Regions from separate parts of the Homo sapiens genome. Here regions 2, 3, 4, 5, 6 and 7 are each linked to region 1. Evidence: promoter capture Hi-C in 16 types of primary human blood cells and fetal thymus (Javierre and others, 2016). All regions are on one chromosome and are shown on one strand. The core of a region is centred on a gene start or on the middle of the fragment in contact, and the rest is flanking DNA. Distances in the headings are between cores, read along the strand shown. Region 1 holds the start of PGRMC2 (progesterone receptor membrane component 2). Region 2 has its middle 23 kb from the start of JADE1. Region 3 has its middle 41 kb from the start of JADE1. Region 4 has its middle 98 kb from the start of JADE1. Region 5 has its middle 12 kb from the start of PLK4. Region 6 overlaps MFSD8 (major facilitator superfamily domain containing 8). Region 7 has its middle 12 kb from the start of LINC03140.

Region 1 (4,017 bases), core at 1,004-3,503:
TACTAATACTTTGTTTTCTTCAGTGGCAGTTCAGACAGGGTACAAAAGCTGATCTTTTAGCTGGGTAAGGTCTATATTAAAAATTTAAACCTGTACAGGATTTCTAATCACTTAACACATTTTAATACCAATGGGGGAAAAGCTTGAACTAGGTATAAAATGCTGTCTAAATCCTTGATTTAAAAAAAATTTACTTCGCTTGGCCTGTTTAAATACTGTACTTTGGCCCTGTTCTCTTGTCCCACGTGTGCTTAAGTAAACAAAAATGTATTAACCATTTCAGTTGATATAAGTAGGCAGACACCTTGTGTTCACATTTATGTAACCAGAAGCAAAAACTCTGTAAGCTATGTATTTACTTGGTTGGATTAAATGTGTATATATACACAGAAGTACAAACAACTAAGAAATAAATTACATAATTCAACACCAAAAATCTCCTATTTCTTATCCCTATTCCAATGAACAAACTACAAACCAAAGCACTTCTAAAATATCTTCCAGCTATCAAGCACTGAAATCAGAAGTATATATTTTTAAGTGTCAATAAATCTTATACACCTACAGATTAAATTAAGGAGAAAACCAGCTTACTTCCAGACTGCCAACCCTATGACTTTAAGGCTTGGAGGTACTCTCTCCAATAACAGGTCACTTTAGGTCTCTAATTTAATTATTTATTCTTATTGTAGTCACCACTTTTTTTTAAAGCTTAGTATTAATCAGTGCACAACCAGGATGCACAATGTTGCTCAACTGTATGATATACCAACAGGTTCCATGAGTCTGGGGTTTATTAACATAATCCAAAATGTATGCTACAACCACACTGTAAAAAAAGGGCGTCTAAATCAACTACCCTACACAAAGTTCCCTGAAAACAAAGTTCTCTCAAAACAAAGTTCTAAAAATCTTTAACTTGCATAACTGGCACATGGGGGTATAAATCTACAACTCTTCTAAGTTTTTTCTCCTTAGTTCTGCTAAGTGAAAACACAAGTCATTATCAACGTGTACTTGAAAAGAGAAAAAAAAAGAAAAAAGAAACCAGAGACACGCCTGCTGGGTATAGGAGCTCCACCCCCAAAACTCAAGGTGAATATCCTTACCAGTCTTTAATAAGCTCTGCATTCTGGTCTGTTCTCATCCCACATACCTTGTTAATCATGGAAAGCAACTCCGAACTAAAACTGGTTTAAAGAGAGTCCGAGGTGTTGCTTATACGTCTGGACTTCAGAGACTGGAGGGTTGGGACTTTACATGCCCCTAAACGTGGCCTTACGGAGTAATACAGCGAGGGAAAAAAGGAGATCAGTGGCAAAAAAAAAAAAAAAGGGGGCAAGGAAAAGAAAACGGTGAATTACAGAGCCCAAAACTTTAGTTTAGGTCCCAACTTCAGAAATCTCCCTTCCCTGGTGCCCCATCCATCCCAGGAATCAGGAGACTCAAAAAAGGTTAAGGGCCAGCGTTGACCTGTGACAACTAAAACGATTTTGAAAAATCCAGCCAAAGAAACAAAAAAAAAAGGCTGCGAGGAGAAATGGGATGGAAGAAAGATGAATGCTGAGAGCTGGTCTCTGGGGCGCCACCGGGGACCCTGGTTTCGGGGGAAGAACTGGAGGTGCCCGTAGCTGCGGGGGGACGGTGTGTGTGTAGGGGCGGGATGGGCCGTCCCAGGTGCGGCGGCCGAGGCGCGGGGGTCCCGGAGACGAGAAGGCTGGGCAAACTAACCCGGTGCCCAGAGGCCTCCCTGTCCGAAGGGGGTTGTGCTTCAGCTGCAGGGGGTCCTTCCCCTCCCCTTCCAACTCCTCACCCGGGCCGTAGAACTTGCTGCCTTTGGTCACGTCGAAGACTTTCCCATTGACCGCGAGCAGGATGCGCGGGTTGCGGGAGCCGTCGTACTGGCGCAGCTGCTCCAAGCTGAAGTCCCGCTTCTTCATGCGAGGCAGAGAGGTGGCGGGGCTCTCCTCGCCCGCCCCGGCCCCGGCCCCCAGACCCCGCCGCCCCCAGCGCACCCACAGCCGGTAGGCCCCCAGCAGCACCAGAGCCACCAGCGCCACGTTCAGCAGCATTTCCCCGCCCCCCGTCAGAAGCGCCAACGCCGCCGCCGCCCAGCCTCCCCCTTCCGCTGCCGCTCCCGCGTCGCCTGGACTCTCGCTGCCGCCGTCGTTGCTGCTCTCGCTGCCACTCCCCAGGGTGCCTAGCTTCACGTCCCCATCACCAGCCGCCATCACTGCCCGCCAGCGCCTTCCTCCTCCTCCCCGCCCCCTGCCCTCCCCAACCCCACGGCCGGCCCCGCCCATCTGGGGGCCTCTCAGCCAATAACGTGAGAAGAGGGGGCGGGGTCAGGCCGGCTCCTGATTGGGTGTTGACGGGGTAACGTTGTCTCGGATCTCCCGCCCCCTCCCTTCTTTCGCTGGCCGCGCACGCGTGCAACGCCCCGCCCACCTCGCCCCACACTTCCCTGCTCTCACTCCAAGCCTCCGCTAGGTTAAGTAGACGAGCCGGGCGGGTCTGAAGAAAAGATGCTACGACGGCCGCGCGGACGCTCATGGGCGGGGCGAGACCACAGCGCGTGCGCGGGCTCCTGAGCGCCACGCGCTCGCCTTTCGTTCGTAACCCCTGCGGGAGGCACGCCCCGCCCAGTCTCCAGGCTCTGCGCGTGCGCCCTGGAATCGCTTCCCTTCCTAGGCCTGCGTTCGCGTCCGCAAACTCCCGCCTCCTTGCGCTCCCCCCGCCCGGGAGCTTCACGTGCGCCTTGGCGGCCGCGGGGGCAGGTCCGGGCTGGACGCCTGGCGGAGGACGCGGGCAGGTGGCTTGTGGGAGGCTGGGGCATAGTTGAGCTGCAAGGCGCAAACCGATGAGGGGCGTCTGCTTTTCACCAGGGCGCCGTCGCTTTTGTCGGGAAACCGGCAGCGTAGGCGCGCAGACCGGGAAGCGGCAAGAAGATTTGGCCACGAGCTGGGGTCTTCCTGGAACGGAGAGAAAGCACGGAACCCGCACCGGGCTTCTCTGGCATCGGCAGTCTACGTGCTCCTCGCGCTGGCACCGAGCAGCCACTCCCCGCTGGGTTTGGCAAAGGCTGCTCTTGTAGAATTTTAAAGGATTTAGAGTCTCATTATTCCTTGAATCATAACTTCTGCGGCCGTAGGGAAGTGGACAGGTTGAGGTGGTCTTTCTATTCGTCATTCACTCTTATTTGCAGGTTCTGTTTCATGTACTTGGACGTCTTTTAGCCTCTCACACCTTGAAATTCTAGTGTGAAAAAGTGACCTCTGAAGTCTCACGCACTCAACTCGTTTGACGAACTCGTTTGACGTGTTCTCTCTTGCCCTTTGTTGTCTGTTGTCTTGAGTCTCATAGAATAGGTTTGAACCTTTCACTGTCGGTTTTGTAGGAGTCACTGAGGATATTGACGAGGCAAGTGACAGGGTCGACACTCTTGTAGAGAGGCTGTATAGCAACCAGGTGTCTGAAGGATTAGAGGCTGGGGAAAGAGTGGGAAAGCAGTTAGTAGGCTAGGGTATTTGTGCGTGAGGTGAGGAGACTCAGAGCTAGGGGAGACATTAGAGCAGGGGTTGGCAAACATTTTTTGTAAAGGGCCCGATCATATTTTAAGTCTCTGCCTTAACTACTCAGCTCTACCTTGTAACGAGAAAGCAGCCATAGACAATACTTGAATGAGTGTAGCTGTCTTCAGTAAAACTATGGACATTGAATTTTTAATATAATTTCAGGTATGAAATATTCTTTTGATTTTTAAGAAAATCATTGAAATATGTAAATTTTTTTTTTTTTAGTTCTGGAGAGGTGCAAAAACAACTTATAAGCCATATTGCTGAGCCCTGCATTAGAGGTACCTGAGGGAGAGCGACACAATTGGTAGTAAATGACCATATACTCTATCCTTCAATATGGAACACTTTTGGAAGTAAAGTAGGGCATTAATAATTATAGCCAGAGACCAGGAGTTATATCAGTTTTATCCCAGGCAAACCTAAAGGAATAGTCACCTTA
Region 2 (4,017 bases), core at 616-3,115, 500 kb after region 1:
GCTCACGCCTGTAATCCCAGCACTTCGGCAGGCAGAGGCGGGCGGATCACCAGGTCAGGGGATGGAGAACATCCTGGCTAACACGGTGAAACCCCGTCTCTACTAAAAATACAAACAAAACAAAACAAAAAACAAAAAAACATTAGCCGGGAGTGGTGGCGGGCGCCTGGAGTCCCAGCTACTCTGGAGGCTGAGGCAGGAGAATGGCGTGAACCCGGGAGGCGGAATGGCGTGAACCCGGGAGGCGGAGCTTGCAGTGAGCCGAGATCGCGCCACTGCACTCCCGCCTGCGCGAAAGAGCGAGACTCCTTCTCAAAAAAAAAAAAAAAAAAAAAAAAAAAGAAAAGAAAAAAGAAAAATATATTAGTCGTGTAGTACTTATTTAAAACATATGATCTAAGTAATTGACTTACATTTGTGATTTTAAGTGGAAATATTTCAAAATGTAAATGTAATATTAGACATTTAAAAGAACCTAAAATTAACATATTTTTAAGATTAATCGATTGCATATATATGAATCACATAAATACTTGAAAAGGAATTTTTGTCAGTCATACAACTGAAGTACTTGACAAAATAAATTAATTACTTTAAGTTTACAAATGCAGATAAAATACTTAAAGTAGGTTAAGTAAATTTATTTATTTATTTATTTATTTAAAAAAATTTTTTTGAGACAGAATTTCAGTGTCATTGCACAGGCTGGAGTGCAGTGGCGCGATCTCGGCTCACCACAAACTCCGCCTCCAGAGCTCAAGTGATTCTTCTGCCTCAGCCTCCCGAATAGCTGGGATAACAGGCATGTACCACCACGCCAGGCTAATTTTGTATTTTTTTGGTAGAGGCAAGGTTTCTCCATGTTGGTCAGGCTGGTCTCGAACTATCCACTTCAGGTGATCCGCCTGCCTCAGCCTCCCAAAGTGTTGGGATTACAGGCTTGAGCCACCGCACCCAGCCTATTCTGTATGTTTTTATTTTATTTATTTATTTTTTTGAGACAAAATTTCACTCCTGTTGCCCAGGCTGGATGGAGTGCAATGGCGTGATCTCGGCTCACCACAACCTCCGCCTCCCGGGTTCAAACGATTCTCCTGCCTCAGCCTCTCCAGTAGCTGGGATTACAGGCATGTGCCAGGATGCCCAGCTAATTTCTATTTTTAGTAGAGACGCAGTTTCTCCTTGTTGGTCAGCTGCTCTCGAACTCCCAACCTCGGGTGATCTGCCCACCTCAGCCTCCCAAAGTGCTAGGATTACAGATGTGAGCCACCGCACCCAGCTGTTTTTATTTTTTTTTTAGATAGAGTCTTGCTGTGTTGCCCAGGCTGGAGTGCAGTGGCGTAATCTCGGCTCACTGCAACCTCTGCCTCCCCGGTTCAAGCAATTCTCCTGCCTCAGTCTCCCAAGTAGCTGGGATTACAGGCATGTGCCACCACGCCTGGCTAATTTTTGTATTTTTAGTAGAGACAGAGTTTTGCCATGTTGGCCAGGCTGGTCTCGAACTCCTGGCTTCAATTGATCCACCTGCCTCGGCCTCCCAAACTGCTAGGATTACAGGCGTGAGCCACCACGCCCCACCAATTAAGTAAATGTATAAATTTGACCAAACATTAATCAAAACCCTCCTCAAAAGTGATTAAATTTAGCTATATCTGTACAATTTATAAGTTGAATTTATAAGCTTACAGAAAAATCCTCGAAGGTTTTGATTTTGTAAAGTCAAATATTAATTTTCAAAGCCAGGCAACTTCTGAATAATTTCTTTCTTTTTTTCTTTTCTGAGACAGAGTCTCACTCTGTTGCCCAGGCTGGAGTGTAGTGGCATGCTCTCGGCTCCACTGCAGCCTCCATCTCTTAGGCTCAAGCAATCCTCCCACTTCAGCCTCCAGAGTAACTGGGACTACAGGTGCACGCCACCACGCTGACCTGAATATTAATAATTTTTTCTATTTGCAAAAGCCGCCTTTGAGGGAATATATTGAATTGGATGGCAGATAAGGAAGGGGAGGTTGGGGAGAGATTTTGGCTGATGGGTCAGGCCCTGACTGAATAAGCTTGGGCCTGTCTCTAGCTGCCTTGCGAGGCTAGCTGCTCCAGTGCTATGAGCCCCTCAGTGCTGAAGCCGCAGGATGGGGGAAGGGAAGCAGAAGCCATGCCCCTGTCTGGGTTTGTCTGTCCCCAGGAACCCCTTGTCCTCACTGTGCTCTGTGCATGTAATAAATGATGCACTGGCCTTAATACCAATTCACAGCATGATTCTTGTCTCTCCGAAGGAGCTGAGCCCGTGGCGTAATGGTCTTTCTTTATTAACTTGCTCTTTGATCGTCCAAGGGACTCCTAACTGACCTGCAGAACTAATTGTGGCTGTATTAAGCAAAGAGTACAGTAAAAACCCAAAGAGGATCCTGAGCATAAGAGCTGCAAATTCACCACATTGTAGTGACATGACTGATCAATGTACAATGAAGACATAGCCAAACACTGATTAATAGTGAGTGGCAGAGCCTCACATTTCATTTTTGGTTGTAATATATTACTGTTTTAAAATTTGCTATAACTGGGCCGGGTGCAGTGGCTCACACTTGTAATCCCAGCATTTTGGGAGGCTGAGGCCTGTGGATCACTTGAGGCCAGGAGTTCAAAACCAGCCTGGCCAACGTGGTGTAACCCGTTTCTACTAAAAATACAAAAAAAATTAGCCAGTTGTGGTGGCACACACCCGTAATCTCAGCTACTCAGGAGGCTGAGGCAGGAGAAGCGCTTGAACCCAGGAGGTGGAGGTTGCAGTGAACCGACATTGTGCCATTACACTTCAGCCTGGGCAACAAGAGTGAAACTCCAACTCAAAAAAAAAAAATAAAAATAAAAATAAATAAATAAATAAAACTTGCTGTAACTGGTCTTATTCCTAAACCCCCTGCCCAGCTTGGATGTGGGGCAAGAGTGTTCTTAAATTTCCTGTTAACTGTATTTTTCTGTCTTCTATCAAAGTCCAACTCTCAGTTGGTGCTCTTGGCTTGGGATGGTGTCCAGATGCAGGAAGGAAGTCTCAAAAGCCTGGAGTGCTGGAGTGAGGTGGCCTGCTCTCCACACTGGCACGTGCGAGGTTCCCGACTTTGCTGCCCTTCACGCAGTTTTAGCAACCAAAGATGAGCTGCCCTGACCTCTGGGTTGCAACTTTTCTCTGCAGGCCTCCTCTTCCCCACCCAGGCCCTGCCAGACCAGCAGTCCGGGGCACAGCTTCAAAGCACAGCTCCGACATTCAGGGCCCCGATACAGTACTGCGGTCTCCAGCCACAGCCGTTCCTGGCTGGCCCAGTAGATAAGGCTTATTCTCAAATCCCACCCAGGGTAGCCAGCAGGCTCAGGTCACAAGTCCAGGAATCGCTAGCCGATCAAGGCTAGAGGTACCGCTTGTCTGATAAGTGACCCAGACCACGGGTGGAATCTTGGCTTGACAAGACCCACTGCCTTTCTCCTCCCCCAACTTCATCTTCGCAGTCTAACTATACTGGATTGGGTTTCCCATTTGGCAGTAAAACTTGTGCACTCAGCCCTGAATCACTGGTCTCTCAGCATTTTTCTCCGTAACGCAGGCAAAAGCCCCGCAGCTCTTGTCATCCCAGTGGGTGATCGCCCCTCCTGATCCTTGGCATTGTGCCAAGGCTCCTTTTTCCCTACTTCTGTCTCCCACTCCTTCCTGCAGTACTCAGGGCCTAAATGGATGAACTTCTGGCAGGATGTCTTCACTCTCGTCACTAACGTCCAAGGCCCAGCCACGATGGTAGAGGGGTCTTCACTACATTATGCGAGAAGGTGTAATACAAAAAATTAGCCAGGTGTGATGGCGGGTGCTTGTGGTCTCAGCTACTCAGGAGGCTGAGGTAGGAGGATTGATTGAGCCAAGGAGACAGAGGTTTCAATGAGCCGTGATCGCCACTGCACTCCAGCCTGGATGACAGAACAAGACCCTGTCTCAAAAAAATAATGAAATAAAATAAAATAAGAGGTGCAGTT
Region 3 (4,017 bases), core at 455-2,954, 480 kb after region 1:
ACAGAAATTCTGAGACTATCATATCCAAGAGGTGGCTCAGGAGACACGAAAATATAATGTACTATCCTGAAACCAAAAAAAGACATTAGGTTAAAAAGTAAGGATATCTAAATAAGTATGGATTTTAGATATTAATCATGTTTTAATATTTGTCATTAATGGTAATATACAATAATAGGTGAAACTGAGGGAGGTGGTAGAAGTGATATGGGAACTTTCTCTACTGTCTTAATTTTTCTATAAATCTAAAACTGTTCTCAAAAAAAGGGTCATCACAAAAAAAAGGGGGGGTCATGAAGTCAGTGGTCTATGAAACCCTGTAAAAATGTGACCCATCCCCCTCTATGTATAACAAAAAAGTTTTCTTTCTTGTCTTCCAGCTGAGGAAGTATTTGATTGGTTTGGTTGGTTTTTGCTAAACACAGAAGAGGTCTTTGCTCAGAGACACAGAAAGTGTTTCTCTTCTCTTCCTTTGGTGTTATGAGTGAGCTTGCCAAACTCGAAGGCAGATGTCTTAGCACCTTCCAGTGTTAATATAACTATGTATCTGGTTGGAACCTGCCCCGAGGCTCCCAAGGCAGCTAATAAATGGCCAGTAATGAACACTGATGGCCAGAGGCTTCTAACCATTAGGACAGTGGACCCATTCTTTCCCAGTCCTCAAAGTTCAACCACATGCAACTAGAAAGATAGTTTTAACCAATCCAAAGTAATGTTGGTTACAGAATCTCTTAGCACCAGTGTTCAGACAGGATTACACGTTGGGGTTTTCATCTTCTGATCCTAGCATGGTACCTAACACTCGGTAGGCACTTAACACATGTTCATTAAGTAAATGGCAATGTGTTCCTAGAGTTCAGGGCAGAATTTTAATATTTCGTATATGGGTCTAATAAAGCAAAGAGCCGTATAGCCTGGCTGGCAAAATAATTATCACCTAAAAAATTTATTAGGCATTTTCTAATTCACGAAATTTATCCGTTATTAGTTCAACTACTATAAGTTTCAAGCCTCTGAATAGCAGAACAGTTCCTGTTATGGGAATGTTGGGTCATATGTCACTTGAAAGGTATCTTTCCCTAAGTATCTATTAATGTGCTAGCGTGGACTCAAAACTGGCCTATCAGGAATATTTAATGTTTCTCTCATGAGGAACCTTGAAGCAGTCGAATTTTATAATTTTTTTGTGTATTTTTTTATTAGTTACAGAACCTTGCCAATTCACTCAAGCTAATCTGCAAGTCCTGTCATTATCACAAAAAAGTACTCTGGCAAATTAACCCCATTTCTCAATGCAGGCTTAATAGGAAAGAGAGCTATTTTGAAAGCTCAGGGGATTACAAGCACTCTTTACAAAACGTACTGCAACACACTAGACTGTGAGATACAGCCTTAAATAGTTAAACAAGTCCATCGACATAAACTGGGTACATTTCCATCCTTGATTCTTCCCTATTGACTTCATTACTTAAGATGTACCTGACTGGAAGCCGGAAAAGGCCTCTTGGGAGTGAGCAGCCCTGGTGGAGGGGAGCAGAGGGAGCCCCTTATTTATGAGGGAGAGAAGACATCATTGGAAACGTATAAGATTTGAACAACAAGCTTCACTGGAATATTATTGAGAGAGCAATACTTGGTTATATATAATCAGGGGTTTTGTAATGAATCTGTGGAAAGGTAACCAGTAATTGCTTAGTATAATCTAAAACTCTGAAAACCTTGTGATAAAATAGCTACAAAGAAATCAAATCAAAACACAGTCTCAGATGTTTTGATCATTGAAGTTGGAACAATTGGGATAGCCTTGAAAGCTTATCTCTAAAATAAGTTCTTACAGAACTCCGTGAGCAGAGACCAAAAGCAGACTTTTAGAAGAACTAACTTCAAAAAAGATTCCCTATATAATAAGAGTCATTTTAAACTGAAATGATCAAGACCTCCTAGGGATTCTAGGTCATGCCTAAACCATCACGGTCAAGTTGGACATGTATAGAGACCTGGTACTCTCACTCTTCCACCTTCGGCCCCACTTATATCCCAGGCTGGGCATTGAAGTTCCCCATCAGTCAGTTGGACGGGGGTACAGGACAGGCCCCTTTAAACGCAGAACTCCCTCAATACTGCAGAACACTGGAAGAGCTCTTGTTCAAGTGGGTAAGTGCAGCCTGAGTGTCTGGTGAGATCAAACCTGAAGAGAGCGTGAGATAAGGAGAGAGTTGAGTCATTAGTCATCTCTTTTAACTAACTCTCTGAAGTTGGCTGGCTTCACACTAGACCTGGTGATTAATGGTAAAGAGATAGCTCTTGCAATTCAACTTCTGTAAGTAGAAAGAAATTTAAAGCTTCCCCTGAGCATTCGCTTCCTCTTCGAATGCTTCAAAACAAATCTCAGCATCAGTAGGCTGATGCCAGTTCTCATCATGCCCCACAGGCCTTGATGAGGGAGACGGAGAGAGCCAGGTGTGCCCTATTGAACAGGCCCCAATGGTTCTCTGCCTTTTCATAGCAATCTCCTAAAGGGAGAACCAGAGTCATCAAATCTCAGGACAAAATGGCAGCCCTAAGAGGGCAATCCACTGTCAGAAAGCATGCATAAGCTATTATTCTGAAGAGAAGAAGATTATTTCCATTCACTATAGGGCTAGTCTGAAGTTTGCAAAGAAGTCCTTTTCATTCAATTATCCCTTGAAGGAAAGTATGTATGTAAAAGTTAAGAAAATTCAATATCAAAAATAGTTTTTGTTTTGGCTTTGAAATTTTTCTTAATATGTAAGCAAAATTCTTAGTTCTGGAGTTGCAGTTACTCAGTTATCAAAAATGATACAGATAAGATAACAAACCCCATTAACCACCCAGTTGCTCAAACAGAAATCTAGGATTCATGTTAATTCCTTTCTTCTTTCACCCCTCACACCCAATCCATTTGTTTCATTAGTTCTCCCTTCAAAATACCTTAATTCATCCACTTTCTCCATTCTCATGGCACCATTCTAATATAAATCATGTCTCACCTGAATTGTTATCATAACCTCTTAAACAGAACTAACTCTTGCTTCCATAGTCTATTTCATGGCAGCCAGAGAGAGATTTTTAAAACACCCATAAGATCTGTCCAGGCATGGTGGCTCATGCCTGTAATCCCAGCACTTTGGGAGGCTGAGGCGGGTGGATTGCCTGAGGTTAGGAGTTCGAGACCAGCCTGGCCAACATAGTAAAACCCTGTCTCTACTAAAAATACAAAAAATTAGCTGGGCGTGGTGACAGGTGCCTGTAATCCCAGCTACTATGGAGGCTGAGGCAGGAGAATTGCTTGAACCTGGGAGGCGGAGGTTGCAGTGAGCTGAGATCGCTCCATTGCTCTCCAGCCTGGGCAACAAGAGTGAAACTCTGTCTGAAAAACAAAAAACAAAAAAATTGGCCAGGCGTGGTGATGCATGCCTGTAATTCCAGCTACTAGGGAGGCTGAAGCAGGAGAATTGCTTGAACCCAGGAGGTGGAGGTTGCAGTGAGCCGAGATGGTGCCACTGCACTCCAGCCTGGGTGACAGAGCAAGGCTCTGTCTCAAAAAAAAAAAAAAAAAATAGGATCTACTGTGTCAGTAAATCTTTAATGGCTTCCTCACAAGGCCTTACATAGTTTGGCCCCTAACTACCTTTCGACTTCATTTCCTACTTTTTTTTTCCTGCTAACACCACTGGTCCTGTTTGGGGTTTCATGACTAAGCCAAGCTCTTATTTCCCCTTGTGTCCTCTGGCTGTAATGCTGATCTTCTCATAACTGGTTCTTTTTCGTTCTTCAGGTCTTAGCATAAATCATCTCCACATTTAAGATCTTCCTACTGGACCTGGCGCAGTGGCTCTCACCTGTAATCCCAACACTTTGGGAGGCTGAGGCAGGAGGATCACTTGAGTTCAGGAGTTCGAGACCAACCTAGGCAACATAGTGAGACCCTGTGTCTACCAAAAATAGAAAAAATTAGTTGGGTGTGGTGCTTTGCACCTCTAGTTCCAGCAACTT
Region 4 (4,017 bases), core at 958-3,457, 420 kb after region 1:
AGGGAAGCCACTGGCAAAGCAGAATATCAAAGACTGGGATTTAAAGTTGAGAGTAAAAACTTAGTAACTGGAGGGCCGGGCGCAGTGGCTCACGCCTGTAATCCCAGCACTTTGGGAGGCCGAGACGAGTGGATCACCTGAGGTCAAGAGTTCGAGACCAGCCTGACCAACATGGAGAAACCCTGTCTCTACTAAAAATACAAAATTAGCCAGACGTGGTGGCGCATGCCTGTAATTCCAGCTACTCGGGAGCCTGAGACAGGAGAATCGCTTGAACCCGGGAGGCAGAGGTTGCCGTGAGCCGAGATCGCCCCATTGCACTCCAGCCTGGGCAACAAGAGCGAAACTCTGCCTAAAAACAAACAAACAAACAAAAAGAAAAAGAAAAAACTTAGTAACTGGCACAGATTCAAAAAATTACCAAAGATCCCACCCAGTTAATGAAATGCTGAAAAATGATTGGCCTTATATAATTTCAGCTTGACCTAAAACTTACGAAATTCATGGTTTGCTTGTTTGCAGAAAGATGCTATTCATCAACTCCCATCCACCATTTCAGATAGATTACATTAACAGCCAACTTCACAGGAGTTGAACTTGCCTTTGCTTTCGAAATTCTCTTGAAACAAAAAATGAGTAGAGATTTCCAAGTTCATCATTAAAATTGGCAAAAGGAGGCCAGGTGCAGTGGCTCACGCATATAATCCCAGCACTTTGGGAAGCCGAGGCAGTTGGATCACCTGAGGTCAGAAGATCGAGACCAGCCTGGCCAACATAGCGAAACCCCGTCTATACCAAAATAGATAAATTAGCTGAGGGCAGTGGCACATGCCTGTAATCCCAGCTATTTGTGAGGCTGAGGCAGGAGAATCGCTTCAACTCAGGAGGTGGAGGTTATGGTGACCCAAGATTGCGCCACTGCACTCCAGCCTGGGTGACAGAAGCAAAACTCCGTCTCAAAGCAAACAAACAAACAAACAAACAAACAAAAAAGATTGGCAAAGGGATAGGAAAATATAGTGGTTTTGTGCTATGTAGGAAAGAGCAGTTAATTCAAAAGACTCCAGTAAACCTTATCACCAAAAAGAAAGATACTACTAAACCCAGGCTGCCAGCAGATTCTAATCTCCTAGAAAATGGGAGACTTTATGAGGTATTACAGAATGTTAAGGAGAAGAATACCTCATACTTGTCTATGCCTTACAGCTTATAAAGCATTCTCCCAGACATGTCCTGTTTTGAGCTCTGTACACAACTATGTATGTGGGGCAGGCATTGGGGTGGGTGTTACAGGGGAATGACAGACCTCAATCTAGTATACAATAAGTAACTTTTGAAAATTTTTAAGTGAAAAGGTGATACACTCAGATCTGTGCCATAGAAGATACTTTTGTCAGAGGGCAAAAGATGAGGACTTACCAGAAATTCATTTAAGGAGCAAGAGGTCCTACAGTAAGCTAGGACCTTGAGCCACAGCAATCGGCATGCTTGGAAGCTTTTTCTCCAAGACAAAAAAGTATTTCAGAAAAGATAAAAGGTATAAAATATTTAAAGAGAATAGGGGGCTTGTACCTCTTGTACCTCACTTTCAGTTTTCTTCCTTTCTTTTTATTATTATTATTATTTGTTGGTGTTCCTATTTCATACACATCCGTGCATTCACATGCAAATAATACATATCAACCTTTCAAATGTGTACAGATGCAAGGAAAAGTAGAGATTCTGAGCATTTTTGGTGGAATTTCTGTGATTCAAATGAATGAGAATAAAATGTAAATAGCTGGGGAAAAATAATTATCTGATTGTACATTAATTGTTATTTTCATTTAGAGGGTTTCAAGAATAGAACAGTATCCTCTGCTAATTGCTGCCTGTATTCATTATCTATTATTGCATAACAAATTTCCCCAAAACTTAGTGGCTTAAAACAACAATAAACATTTATTATCTCTGACAGTTTTATGAGTCAGGAGTTCTGGAGCAGCTTAAGTGGGTGCCTGGGGTCTCTCATGGGACTAGAATCAAGCTATTGGCTGAGGCTGCAGTCATCTGAAGGTTTGATCCCCTTTCAAGATGGCTCACACACGTGACTTGGATTTGGGGGCAGGGCTCAGATTTTCTCCACATAGACTCTCTCAGGGCTACTTGAGTGCTCTCATGACCTAGCAACTGACTTTCCCCGGAGCAAGTGATCTACTAGAGTGAGAGCCAGGCAGAAATAATCCTTTTTATAACCTAGCATTGGCTATAACATGACATCACTTCTACCATGTTCTATTCATTAGAAGCAGTTCACTAAGTCCAGCCCACATTCATTCAAAGGGAGAGGAATTAGGCTACAGCTTTTGAAGGAGGTGTGTGTCTTAGTCTCTTCCAGCTGCTATAATAAAATACCTGAGATTGGGTAATTTATAAAGAATAGAAATTTATTTCTCACAGTTCTGGAGGCTGGAAATCTAAGGTCAAGGCACTAGCAGGTTGGATGTCTGATGAGGGCCCAATCTCTTCTTCTAAGATGGTGCCTTGTTGCTGGGCACTTTGGAGGGGATGAATGCTGTGTCCTCATGTTGCAGAAGAAATGGAAAGGCAAAAAGGGACCAACCCATTCCTTCAAGTTCTATAAAGGCCTTAATCCTATCCATGAAAGTGAAGCCCTCATGGCCTAATCATCTCCTAAAAGCCCCACCTCTTAATACTGTTACATTGGGAAGCAAGTTTCAACATAAAATTCGGAGAGGATACGAACATTCAAATCATAGAAGTGTGTCTAAGATTTTGTGAATCTATTTTTTTTAAAAACCACACTTTCTTAACTTAAAAAATGGGTTTGGGTACTTTGTGCTCCAGATAAAATTCCCAACTTACTGAACAGCTTCACAGAATCAGATGTCCTAGGGAACTCCCATTCTTTGGCCAACAAAAGCTTGTCAACTTACTCTGAGATGTCTCAGAGTTGTGAAGGCCCACAATAGTCATAGTTGTGTTTTTTGTTTGTTTGTTTTTTGAGATGGAGTCTCACTCTGTCACCCACGCTGGAGTGCAATGGTGCGATCTCAGCTCACCACAACCTCCGCCGCCTGGGTTCAAGCGATTCTACTGTCTTAACCTCCCGAGTAGCTGGGATTACAGGCACATGCCACCACGCCTGGCTAATTTTTGTATTTTTAGTAGAGACGGGTTTCTCCATGTTGGCCAGGCTGGTCTCGAACTCCTGACCTCAGGTGATCTGCCCACCTCGGCCTCCCAAAGTGCTGGAATTACAGGAGTGAGCCACCATGCCTGGCCCATAGATTTTTTTTTAAGTGTCAACCTTGTAATCCAAAGAGAAAAAGGAACCTAAAAGTCCAAACCACTGTAGCATCATCATTCAAATTATTTTCCTTGGATATCAAAAGAAAGAACAATTTTTGAAAGTTAAGTTTCAGTGTCAGAGGAAGGAAGAAGCCCTAACAAGTTCTGAGGAGCATAAACTGCAAATAATGTAATTACAACAATTTGATACTTATTAGAAATCAGGAAAAACACCTCCTACCTAGAAAACTGAAACATTATTACAGTCAAACAAGAAACTTTTCTACATTTAGCCAAGTGAAGAACAAAAAAGTCCTCAAGACTTTTGAGAATGCTGCCTGGGAGAACAAAAGATCAGTACCCTAATTACTTTGGTAACTTTCCATCATAATCAGTGTGGCAGTTTGTTTTGCTGCTGCTTCTCCTTTCCCTTTTAAATGATCTGCAACTTGTCTGTCTTTTAGATCTAAAAGATAGGCAACCATTTTCTTCTGTCTGTTGCTTTGATTCTTGGCTTATCAGAATTTCTCTGTATCTGAGCTGAAGTCAGGAGTCAGCTTCAGAGAACAAATCTCAGGAAGTAAACAAGTCTGCTAAAAAACAAAATAACAATTTGCAAACAGCAGCACTATTAACAAGGACCCTCAAACTGGTATCCTCTTAGGAGCAGAGTGTCTTAGTCCATTTTCTTTTGATATGACAGAATACCACAAATTGGTAATTTAT
Region 5 (4,017 bases), core at 512-3,011, 420 kb before region 1:
AGCTGAGAATCAAATCAAGAACTCCACCCCTTTTACAATAGCTGCAAAAATAAAATAGAATACTTAGGAATATACTGAACCAAGGACGTGAAAGACCTCTACAAGGAAAACTACAAAACACTGCTGAAAGAAATCACAGATGACACAAACAAATGGAAACATATCCCATGCTCATGATGGGTAGAATCAATATTATGAAAATGACCATACTGCCAAAAGCAATCTACAAATTCAGTGCAATTCCCATCAAAATACCATAACCATTCTTCACAGAACTGAAAAAAGAAATCCTAAAATTCATATATGGAACCAAAAAAGAGCCTGCATATCCTAAGCACGACTAAGCAAAAAGAACAAATCTAGAGGCACCACATTACATTACCTGAGTTCAAACAATACCATAAGGCCATGGTCACCACAACAGCATGGTACTGGTATAAAAAACAGGCATATAGGCCAGGCGCAGTGGCTCATGCCTGTAATACCAGCACTTTGGGAAACTGAGGCAGGCGGCGTTCGAGACCAGCCTGGGCAACGTGGTGAAACCCCATCTGTACTAAAAATACAAAAAATTAGCCAGGGGCAGTGGCAGGTGCCTGTAATCCCAGCTATTCAGGAGGCTGAGGCAGGAGAATTGCTTGAACCTGGAAGGCAGAGGTTGCAGTGAGCCAAGATCATGCCACTGCACTCCAGCCTGGGCAACAGAAGTGAAACTCTGTCTCAAAAAAACAAAACAAAACAAAAAAACAGGCATATAGACCAAGGGAACAAAATAGAGAACCCAGAAATAAACCCAAAGACTTACAGCCAACTGATCTTCAACAAAGCAAAGAAAACCATTCAACAAATGGTGCTGGGATAATTGGCAAGCCACATGTAGAAGAATGAAACTGGATCCTCATCTCTCCCCTTATACAAAAATCAACTCAAGATGGATCAAAGATTTAAATCTAAGACCTAAAACCATAAAAATTCTAGAAGATAACACTGGAAAAACCCTTCTAGACACTGGCTTAGGCAAAGACTTCATGACCAAGAACCCAAAAGCAAATGCCACAAAAACAAAGATAAATAGATGGGACTTACTTAAACTAAAAAGCTTCTGCACAGCAAAAGAAATAGTCAGTAAATAGACAACTCACAGAGTGGGTGAAAATCTTTGCGATCTATACATCTGAGAATGGACTATTATAATATCCAGAATCTATAAGGAATTCAAACAAATCAGCAAGAAAAAAACAATTCCATCAAAAAGTGGGCTAAGGACATGAATAGACAATTGTCAAAAGATATACAAATGACCAAGAAACATAAGAAAAAATGCTCAACATCACTCATTATCAGAGAAATGCAAATCATAACCATGATGGGATACTACCTTACTCCTGCAAGCATGGCCATAATAAAAAAAAAATTTTTTTTAAAAGATGTTGGCATGGATGTGGTGAAAAGAAAACACTTTTACACTGCTGGTGGGAATGTAAACTAGTACAACCATTATGGAAAACAGTGTGAAGATTCCTTAAAGAACTAAAAGTAGAACTACCATTTGATCCAGCAATCCCACCCCTGGGTATCTACCCAGAGAAAAAGAAGTCATTATACGAAAAAGATACTTGCACATGCATGTTTATAGCAGCACAAATCAACTACAAAAATATGGAACCAGCCCAAATGCCCATCAATCAACAAGCAGATAAAGAAAATGTGAGATATACATATATATATGTTCTATCAACAAAATCTATTTTATCTGTAAACCATAATAAAGCTGTTGTCTCTGTGTGTGTGCGTGTGTGCGTGTGTCTCTGTGTGTGTCTTCTATCAACAAAATCTACTTTATCTGTAAACCATAATAAAACTGTTGCAAGTATAGCACTTTCTTGAGGGCTGTGAGTCAATCTAGGAAATTACATACATACCATGGAATGAATACTACTCAGCCATAAAAAGTAACAAAATAATGGCATTTGCAACAACCTGGATGGAATTGGAGACCATTATTCTAAGTGAAGTAACTCAGGAAAGGAAAACTAAACATCATATGTTCTCACTCTTAAGTGGGAGCTAAGCTATGAGGATTCAAAGGCATTAAAATGATAGAATGGACTTATGGACTTTGGGGACTCAGGGGAAAGGGTGGGGAGTGGCGAGGGATAAAAACATAAATTTATTTCAGGTTGTGGGCTCGCCGTGATGGAAAGACACATCATGTGATTAAAGAGTTGGGCTTTTTGAAAGGTGAAATCAGCCCAACCTTCAGGGAGGAGTAGGGGGCTAGAAATTGAGTTCAATCGTGTGACCAGTGATTTAATCAATTTTGTCCGTGTAATGAAACCCCAGTAAAAACAACACTAAAGCTCAGTCTTCTCATTGGTGACAAAAATTAATGTGCCAGGAGGGTGATGCATCTTGATGACACAGAAGCTTCATGTTTGGGACCCTGCCAGGCCTCACCCTATGCATATCAAAATAAATAAATAAATTACTAATTTATGATCACCAAGCAGTGTTATTCAAGAAATGGAGGAATAATCAGGAAATCAACAAAATCTATTTTATCTGTAAACTTGTCACAAACTTTGAAGAGTCTTGGATTTTGCCCTACTTGCAAGGTAACTCAGCCTGACACAGTCTCACTGATGCTGGTAAAGTTGGCAAATACCCAACTTTTGGTAGTATACATAAAACTCCAGGACCAAGGGTGAAGAACAATTTATTTTTTAAAAAATAGCAGTAGCCTGGCTATCAGCAATTTTGTGCCTATTCCCTGAGGCCTAATTCTTACCAGGCAGCACAAATAGAATGATGACACCTGCACATACAGTGGGTTGCATTTTAGGAGAAGAGTCTGGCTTACGAGACCGATTTTTTTTCCTTTGCAGAAAAACAAACAAAAAAACACCACAGAGGCCAGTGCAGTGGTGTGTGCTGGGGATGGTTGAGGTGAGAAGATTGCTGGACAAAATAGAGAGACCCCCTCTCTAAAAGATACATAAATATATATTTTTAAAAACACATAAATCTACCCTCTTAACAATTTCTAAGTGTACATACAGTACAGTATTACTAATTAAATGCACACTGCAATTCAATACATCTGTAGAACTTTTTCATCTTTCATGATTCAAAGTTGAGCTAAAAGTTGAACAACAGCTACCTGTTTCCCCTCCCCCTTCCATGGTAGAAGGGGCCAAATACCATTCTACTCACTGTTTCTATGAGTTGGATTTCTTTGAATCCTTCATATAAGCAGAATCATGCAGCATTTGTCTTTTTGTGATTGCTAATTTCACTTAGTATAATGTCTTCAAGGTTAATCCAAGTTATCCAAATGAAAAGATTTCCTTCTTTTTTAAGGCCAAATAATATTTTATTGCGTATATAAACCACATTTTTATTTATTTTTATTTTTTCGATGAGAAAAAAAGTGAAGTATTTATTTTCATTAATATCTGACTGAAGATTAGGATTCCATAAATATAAACAACAAATCACTGTAGTAGCTATATAAGTCACTATAGTAATTTTGCAACTACCAAAAATTGCAAACATTTTCACATTGCATTACAGATGTAGGTATAATAAAATATTACTTGCAGTCATTGCTACTTTAAAACTATAGGAGTTATTAAATCAGCTGCTAGATTTTTATAAATATACACATTGCATTACATCACAAAGTATAAAATATTTTGATAATTTTATTTCATAATAATTTCCTGCAATCCTATGTATTTTATGCATTTAAAAACATTGCTCTGAGAAAGGTCCATAGGCTTCATCAGACTGTCAAATCACTATCTTGTGCAAAATCAAGAACCCTTGTACTACAGGAAGATACACACAGGTCAAATAAGGATCCCTGGAGTTAGAAGAACAAGTAATAGCCCAAGGCAGCCTCCTCCTCTTTATTCCATGTCCTAGCATTAATCCTGCCTACCCTCTCTGTTCCAGGCCTCTGAGGTATTCCTCCTTGTAAGACTTGTACCCACCCATTCTTGTTCTGCCTCTCAA
Region 6 (4,017 bases), core at 958-3,457, 320 kb before region 1:
TAAACTGAAAATATTCTATAAAGATATGCCCTATAAGGACAGATGCCCTAATAATACAAATTTTACAGAGACTAGGCTAAGGTTGCAAAAAAATTTTGAAATCATTTGTAACTTGGATCAGTAACGTGAGCTACAAACGGTTTTTACAGATGAATATTTATCAGTTTGATGACAGAAAACACCAACTCTGAAGTGCAATTAAGGAAAATGTCATCCCCTCCCCCACCAAATTCTATCCCTTTCATTAACAAACCTATATTATACTTATTATTATATTTTAAATGTCATTACTAAAAAATTTTGTGGAATTTGTTTTCTGGTTATCTAAACACCTATATAATATCCTTGATTTTTCCCCTTGCCCTAAACAAGCCTAAAATATTTACAATCTGGGACTTTACAGGAAATGTTTTCCAACCCCTGTTGTCTTAAATAAAGCTCCATAGAGGGGGTCAGTGGGGAGCACTGAGGATTCAAGAGGCCAGCTCCACCAGACCAGCAAATAATAATCAACCTTGTTAGTGAGGAAAAGTTGGTGGTGACCTAGACATGTTTGTGCAATATATTCAAAGTGAACAGGTCCTGCCAACTAGTTGTACATAGGTTCACTTTACTAGGGAATATACTTGTTTTTAAAGACATATACTTATTATTTTCAAAATACTCCCTTTTTGTTTTTAAAATGCTAAATCTAGAACCTCAATCAGAGGTATTGATTATTGGCAGGAACACCTAAATCTGGACAGATCCTAATGAGCATCAATCACTTTGATGAAATCAAAGCTAAGAGTATGAAAAAAAATTCTCTTTTGTACAAGGTGACAGAATGTACCAGAAGACCACATTTAAACATAACTCAGGGATCCTGCAATTATCTGGAAAATAGCTAAAAACCAGGACGAAGCAAAAAGAATTCTGAGGCCGGGCACGGTGGCTCACACCTGTAATCCCAGCACTTTGGGAGGCCGAGGCGGGCGGATCACGAGGTCAGGAGATCGAGACCATCCTGGCTAACACGGTGAAACCCCGTCTCTACTAAAAATACAAAAAAAATTAGCCCGGCGTGGTGACGGGCGCCTGTAGTCCCAGCTACTCTACTCGGGAGGCTGAGGCAGAAGAATGGCGTGAACCCGGGAGGCGGAGCTTGCAGTGAGCCGAGATTGCGCCACTGCACTCCAGCCTGGGTGACAGAGCGAGACTCCGTCTCAAAAAAAAAAAAAAAAAAAAAGAATTTCTGAGTTCTGAGAAAACCAAATGTCATGAAGTCCACGCACTCAAGCTTATGCACTTAACTAGTAGGAAAGACATTTAGCTCTCAGTCAGAACTACCAGGTTGTAATGACACACAGTTACATTAAGCATAGATCCAGGGTTATCAAAGCTATAACAAACAAGAAGCCCCAAATTAAAGCTGGTGGAAAGAGTATGGTGACAGCAACAACAATAAAACAACTGTTGCTGCCAGATTTCAAAAACATGATGCAGAACAGTCTGCGAGGAAAACAGTCTGTCAGAAAAACTAAAAAGCAGACGTAAGTACTTAAAAAGTATAGCAACGGGCCTCAGAGCCTATTGAGACATTTGGGACTGTTTGCTTCTACACCAGCACTTTGGGAGGCTGAGGTGGGTGGATCACTTGAGGTCAGGAGTTCCAGATCAGCCTGGCCACCTGGTGAAACCCTGTCTTTACCAAAAATACAAAAATTAGCCGTGTCTGGTGGCCCACGTCTGTTAATCCCAGCTACTCCAGAAGCTGAGGCAGGAGAATCGCTTGAACCTGGGAGGCAGAGGTGGCAGTGAGCCAAAATCGCACCACTGCACTCCAGACTAGCCCACAGAGCAAGACCCCGTCTCAAAAAAAAGTATAGCAGTGTAGAATAAATTGGTATAGAAGCAACAGTCCCAAATGTCTCAATAGGCTCTGAGGACATCACTCTATTAAAATTCATATCAGCATCGATATTCATTTTAATGATCTCAAGATAAAATCAAGTAAAGATAAAACTGCACTCCAGGCTCACCACTGCACTCCAGACTAGGCCACAGAGCAAGACCCCGTCTCAAAAAAAAAGTATAGCAGTGTAAAATAAATTGGTATAGAAGCAAACAGTCCCAAATGTCTCAATAGGCTCTCAGGACATCACTCTACTAAAATTCATATCAGCATCTAAACTCATTTTAATGATCTCAAGATAAAATCAAGTAAAGATAAAACTGCATTGCATAAACTCTGTTTAGTAAATCGAGGACCAGAGAAATACATTTGCCAAAGGGTTTTGAGTTAGAGTGCTCACAAAAGGTTGGTGCTTAAGGGGAACAAATGAGTAAAAATTATTATGGTCATAGACAGCTGAAGTTTAACTGAATTTATTAATTTACCTGAGGTAATTATTATGTATATTTCAAATAAAATAGTAATTCCGTTTTCCTAAAGGTAAAAATACATTAGGTATACATTCCCGAGTCACTGCCCATAAACTAGGATCAGAACAACCAGAATTATAAGGATCAAAATACTGACGTTATTCCTTTAATGCCTTAAAATTAGTCTTTCTTTGTACATTTGGCATAGGACAAAGGCGAGCTCATTTTGGACAGATTTGTTAAACTATCAAGAGGTTGTCAGGCAATTAGGCAGCAGGTCATTACTAAGACCGATACCTTCAAGTATCTATTAAAACCATCATTTTGAAACTGTGAAATCTGGAAAGTGATCAGCTACAAAGGGCCAAATATGGAATGCAGAAGATACAGAATGTGGTGGCTTTGTGTCCGGGATTGGTGGGTTCTTGGTCTCACTGACTTCAAGAATGAAGCTGCGGACCCTCGCGGTGAGTGTTAACAGCTCTTAAGGTGGCACGTCTGGAGTTTGTTCCTTCTGATGCTCAGATGTGTTCAGAGTTTCTTCCTTCTGGTGGGTTCGTGGTCTCGCTGGCTCAAGAGCGAAGCTGCAGACCTTCGTGGTGAGTGTTACAACTCTTAAGGCGGCGCGTCTGGAGTTGTTCGTTCCTCCCCGTGGTCTCGCTGGCTTCAGGAGTGAAACTGCAGACCTTCGCGGTGAGTGTTACGGCTCATAAAAGCCGTATGGTCCCAAAGAGTGAGCAGTAGCAAGATTTATCGCAAAGAGCGAAAAAACAAAGCTTCCACACTGTGGAAAGGGACCTCAGCGGGTTGCCACTACTGGTGGGCAGCCTGCTTTTATTCTCTTATCTGGCCCCACCCACATCCTGCTGATTGGTAGAGCCGAGTAGTCTGTTTTGACAGGGCGCTGATTGGTGCGTTTACAATCCCTGAGCTAGACACAAAGGTTCTCCACGTCCCCACTAGATTAACTAGATACAGAGTGTTGACAGAAAGGTTCTCCAAGGCCCCACCAGAGTAGCTAGATACAGAGTGTCGACTGGTGCATTCACAAACCCTGAGCTAGACACAGGGTGCTGATTGGTGTGTTTACAAACCTTGAGCTAGATACAGAGTGCCGATTGGTGTAGTTACAATCCCTGAGCTAGACATAAACGTTCTCCACGTCTCCACCAGACTCAGGAGCCCAGCTGGCTTCGCCCAGTGGATCCCGCACCGGGGCTGCAGGTGGAGCTGCCTGCCAGTCCCGCGCCGTGCACCCGCACTCCTCAGCCCTTGGGTGGTCGATGGGACTAGGCACCGTGGAGTAGGGAGCGGCGCTCATCGGGGAGGCTCGGGCCGCACAGGAGCCCACGGAGTGGGTGGGAGGCTCAGGCATGGCGGGCTGCAGGTCCCGAGCCCTGCCCCGCGGGAAGGCAGCTAAGGCCCGGCGAGAAATCGAGCGCAGCGCCAGTGGGCTGGCACTGCTGGGGGACCCAGCACACCCTCCGCAGCCGCTGGCCCGGGTGCTAAGCCCCTCATTGCCCGGGGCCGGCAGGGCCGGCCTGCTGCTCCCAGTGCGGGGCCCGCCAAGCCCACGCCCACTCGGAACTCCAGCTGGCCCGCAAGCGCGGCGCGCAGCCCCGGTTCCCGCTCACGCCTCTCCCACCACACCTC
Region 7 (4,017 bases), core at 633-3,132, 270 kb after region 1:
TTCTTCCTTACATGTGTGTAAAGGAGCTTTCAAGACCCGCTGGTAAAATTGAAGACTAATCCATTAAGGCTTAGCAACGAAGAAAGAATCTGCACCTTGGGAGGAACAGCTAAGTATCATGGCCAAAACTTGTTCCTGGGGTTCCTTTTTCCCTTGAGGGTTTCTTGCTTATGGTGCTGTTGTCCCCACATTAATCTCTGCAGAACACTCCTCCAATAATGTTTAATCCAAAGGTAAACTCAACTGTCTCCTTTATTTTCCAAAACACACAGCATGGCTGTGACCAAACTGGAACTATTTTTTTTTTTTAGGCAGGGTCTCGCTCTGTTCCCCAGGCTGGAGTACACTGGCACAATTATAACTCACTACAGCTTTGAACTCCTAGACTCAAGTAATCCTCCCACCTCAGCCTCCCGAGTGGCTGGAACTACAGGCATATGCCACCACACTCAGCTAATTTTTTCTGGAGAAGGGTTCTCACTCAGTTGCCCAGGCTGGCCTCGAACTTCAGGCCTCAAGCAATCCCCCCACCTTGGCCTCCCAAAGCCTGAGATTCCAGGCATGAGCCACTGTGCCTTGCAAACTAGAACTTTTAAACAAAATTTTTAGGCACCAAAAAGTTTGGGATAACAAAAGAAAACTACATACTAAGGAGAACATAAAAATGGACTATCTGGTTTGCAAGACTCAACTCTTAACTGTGTTTCTGCCTCTATTGGAGGAAATCATCAACCTCTACCACTTAGCCATAGGCCAGGTCCCAGAGAGTGATGAGTCTTCCCTTTCTATCTATCTCAGGCTCCCTTTTTCCATCCAGGGACCCCTTTTCCCTGGATAAGAGATAGGGGGAATGTCTGCCCCTTCAGCAGACATTCAAGCCCTCCTTGGCAGAGCCTTATTCTATGACCTCTGCAAGCTCAGGAGGCACCTGGATTGCTCAGCAGCCCCAGGAGACACACCAGAGCATAAGGGGTGTTGATGTTTGGGACACTGTAGGAAAGTCAGGACCAAACCCAAAATGCTTTCTTATAACGATGCTTCTTACCCTTATTTGTGTTTATAACATATTTGCAAATGTTAAGACTCTTATCAGTGTATTTGAAGAAATTAAAAATGAACAAGTCAACAACAATTATAAAACAATCATTTTGGTTGGGCGCCAGGGCTCAGGCCTGTAATCCCAGCACTTTGGGAGGCTGAGGTGGGCAGATCACTTGAGGCCAGGAGTTTAAGACCAGCCTGGGCAACATGGCACAACCCCATCTCTTCTAAAAATACAAAAATTAGCTGGGTGTGGTGATGCACACCTGTAGTCCCAGCTACTTGGGAGGCTGAGGCAAGAGAATTGATTGAACCTGGGAGGCGGAGGTTGCAGTGAGCCGAGATCGTGCCACTGCACTCTAGACTGGGTGATAGAGCGAGACTCTGTCTAAAAAAAAGAAATTTAAAATAAAACAATCATTTCTATAATATAAAAACTTTATCACTTTTATCAATAAATTTTATCAATTTTAAAGTGATAAGAAAAGTGATAAGCTTTGCTACTGTTGAATAGAACAATGTATTGATCTGACTTATATTCTCCAGGCCTCATGTGGTCACCACCTATGTTCTATTCCCAGAAGTTGCTCCTTTGTTCTACATCATGTTGCCTCTGCTCATTGAGCTCTGTGGTCCATCTGATGGACATCGTAAGAACAGGCTTCCTACGCAGATGTCACCAAAATCAATGTTGCATGTTGTTCAAAATTTGTTAGCACACTTACAGAGCTTTCTCAGACATACCAAAGTGCCCATGACCTTAGTTGACAATCACAGTACTACATTCTTAGGGTAACTTGAACAAGGTCAGAATTTTTATATTACGTAATTGTGACTAATCTTGTTATATGAACTTGCTTTTAGTATACATATATAGGTATATGAAAAAATATTTGCATTTAAATTTCCTCCATGTGTGAATTTAGATGTATGAGTTTAGGGGGGTGTGTGTGTTTTATATAAACAATATGGCAAGGAATGCTGGCTAAAATACAAAGATCTACAGATGACTCTCTCAGGATGGGCCCTTGGGTGTTGTGGTGTGGTGACTACCTCAAAACAAAGGGAAATGTTTTGCTATGAATTTCCTGTTCATGGAAAACTATATGGTTGAAAAAAAAAAATCTTCTTTCCTCTTGAGAACTGTCCGTGTGCCAAAGTAAGAAGAAGCTCCTGAAAGGATTACTCAAGCTTCCCCTCCCCCACATCTTCTCCTCATCCCCAAAGCCTAATAATTCTGAAAAAGATGAAATGGAAGGGCACTTGTCACTAAACTTCTTAGCACTTTAAAATAGCCAGACGCATTGCCTGAGACTATGGCAAGTTTGGACTCACACCAGCCGTGAAAATACTCTGTCTTTTTTTAGGAAGTAAATTGCATACACATCACAAAGAGTATTCTGAAAGTGGTTTTCTTTCTGCTTTGTCTGAACGACTTGCACGTCAGCCTTAACCATGCTCTGAGCTCATAAACATGTTCTTCAGCTTGCCAAACTCCCCAACCTCTGCTCAGTTGCCAGAGTGGCGGCATTGTATTACTCCGTTGCTAGGAGGGCAAGACAGCTGAATCCTAGGCCTAGAAAAGATGTCGAGATGGTATATGTAATGTCCTTGTTTTATAAATGAGGAGCTTAAAGCTCAGAGAGACTGCATGGCTTGCTGGAGGCCACAAGCTTGTCTGTAATAGTCTTGGAGCTGGTTGATTCTGCCTCCTCAGTTGATTCAAGGCTGTAACTCCTGCACCATTACTGAAGCCCTTTGAACACTGCCAGATACTATGTAAATGTAAGGTATCTGTGGAAGGCTGAAGCTGCCAGACGTTTGTCTGTCGTAACGAAGGTTTCAGGGTAAGAGGAACTCTTTCCTTCAGCCAACTCCCTCTGTCTCTTCTAAAATGACTGAGAATATACAAGAACCTTTTAGCCTCATTATGTGAAGCCTTGAGAATATAAAGTTTGTGAGCTGGACACAGTGGCTCATGACTGTAATCCAATCGGAGCTACTCTGGAGGCCGAGGAAGGAGGATCGCTTGAGCCCCCGTTCAAGACCAGCCTGAGCAACATAGCAAGACCCTATCTCTAAAAAGTTAAAAAATAAATTAGCCAGATCTGGCAGCACATGCCTGTAGTTCCAGCCACTCGGGAGGCTGAGGTAGGAGGATTGCTTGAGCCCAGGAGGTCTAGGCTGCAGTGAGCCATGATCATGCCACTGCACTCCAGCCTGGGCAACAGAGTGAGACCCCATCTCTTTTAAAAAAAATGTAAAGTTTGGGGTAATTTAGATATGAGGACATATTCTTACAGAATAACTTCAAACTAAGCATTTATTTTCAGAATGGTGAGTACTTATAAGAGGAGTTGTGTCTAAAATCAGTAGTTCAGAAATGATTTCATGAAAATAACTTCATCTTCTAGGTTTAGCATCTAATTCTACAAAGAAAAGAAAATATTATACTTATGACATATTACTATGTAACATCCTGAGGCCCACTGACTTGTGATTGGTTTTATTCATTTCATTCACATTAATCTTAGTTTTTATCCTTCCTTCAAATGTGGGCTGGATTGTTTGACATTGTGATCACACAGAAGTAACAACATACATGATTCGCTCCCCTAATTCTATAACGAACTCTCACACAATTGCATTGTTCCATTAAACCCATCACTTGCCCTTCACCCCTTCTTTCAGTGCTTCCAAATTTTTGAGGTTCAAATATGCATTATCTTATCAATAAAGACAAAAATCTACCAGAAATGGAGGAAATATAGCAGAGCCATTTTCTTTATGACAAAAAAAAAAAAAAAAAAAAGGAATCATCTTTTGCTTTAAATGGGTTACATCAGACAACTTTTAAAGCATATTTCCTGTGGGTCTGATTTGGGTTGTGATATCTACACAGACCGTGTAAACACAGACCGTGTAAACACAGACCGTGAGATTTGCTTTCTTTGTTTGGAGAAAAGATTTCCTGAG

What was found. The method cuts DNA at HindIII sites, captures the fragments that hold promoters and counts their contacts. A CHiCAGO score of 5 or more calls a contact.
Region 2: a fragment that was not itself captured here is called in contact with the fragment with the promoter of PGRMC2 in region 1 in 1 of 17 cell types (non-activated CD4 T cells); the score reaches 7.7 in non-activated CD4 T cells.
Region 3: a fragment that was not itself captured here is called in contact with the fragment with the promoter of PGRMC2 in region 1 in 4 of 17 cell types (activated CD4 T cells, non-activated CD4 T cells, total CD4 T cells and 1 more); the score reaches 6.2 in activated CD4 T cells.
Region 4: a contact is called between a fragment that was not itself captured here and the fragment with the promoter of PGRMC2 in region 1, in 1 of 17 cell types (fetal thymus). The highest score is 5.6, in fetal thymus.
Region 5: a fragment that was not itself captured here is called in contact with the fragment with the promoter of PGRMC2 in region 1 in 1 of 17 cell types (total B cells); the score reaches 5.2 in total B cells.
Region 6: a fragment that was not itself captured here is called in contact with the fragment with the promoter of PGRMC2 in region 1 in 10 of 17 cell types (non-activated CD4 T cells, neutrophils, naive CD4 T cells and 7 more); the score reaches 13.6 in non-activated CD4 T cells.
Region 7: a contact is called between a fragment that was not itself captured here and the fragment with the promoter of PGRMC2 in region 1, in 2 of 17 cell types (megakaryocytes and M1 macrophages). The highest score is 9.0, in megakaryocytes.

Annotation. Positions count from the first base shown.
Region 1 is chr4:128,285,560-128,289,576 of GRCh38, forward strand. It overlaps PGRMC2 (progesterone receptor membrane component 2), which reads right to left and starts at 2,254. Exons shown (of 3, transcript NM_006320.6): 1 at 1,814-2,254. The coding sequence starts at 2,231. RefSeq lists silencers at 1,894-1,953, 2,134-2,183, 2,194-2,373, 2,694-2,883, 3,255-3,549. The HindIII fragment of the contact is 4,970 bases long and covers 710-4,017 here.
Region 2 is chr4:128,784,585-128,788,601 of GRCh38, forward strand. No RefSeq gene overlaps it. Among named protein-coding and RNA genes, the nearest start is that of JADE1, 23 kb to the right of the region's middle. The HindIII fragment of the contact is 373 bases long and covers 1,680-2,052 here.
Region 3 is chr4:128,766,368-128,770,384 of GRCh38, forward strand. No RefSeq gene overlaps it. Among named protein-coding and RNA genes, the nearest start is that of JADE1, 41 kb to the right of the region's middle. The HindIII fragment of the contact is 209 bases long and covers 1,601-1,809 here.
Region 4 is chr4:128,709,580-128,713,596 of GRCh38, forward strand. No RefSeq gene overlaps it. Among named protein-coding and RNA genes, the nearest start is that of JADE1, 98 kb to the right of the region's middle. The HindIII fragment of the contact is 1,428 bases long and covers 1,494-2,921 here.
Region 5 is chr4:127,866,526-127,870,542 of GRCh38, forward strand. No RefSeq gene overlaps it. Among named protein-coding and RNA genes, the nearest start is that of PLK4, 12 kb to the right of the region's middle. The HindIII fragment of the contact is 1,328 bases long and covers 1,098-2,425 here.
Region 6 is chr4:127,960,614-127,964,630 of GRCh38, forward strand. All of the region lies in intron 1 of MFSD8 (major facilitator superfamily domain containing 8), which reads right to left. Among named protein-coding and RNA genes, the nearest start is that of MFSD8, 2.6 kb to the right of the region's middle. RefSeq lists silencers at 3,517-3,626, 3,737-3,866, 3,877-3,926. The HindIII fragment of the contact is 1,861 bases long and covers 1,278-3,138 here.
Region 7 is chr4:128,556,967-128,560,983 of GRCh38, forward strand. No RefSeq gene overlaps it. Among named protein-coding and RNA genes, the nearest start is that of LINC03140, 12 kb to the right of the region's middle. The HindIII fragment of the contact is 696 bases long and covers 1,535-2,230 here.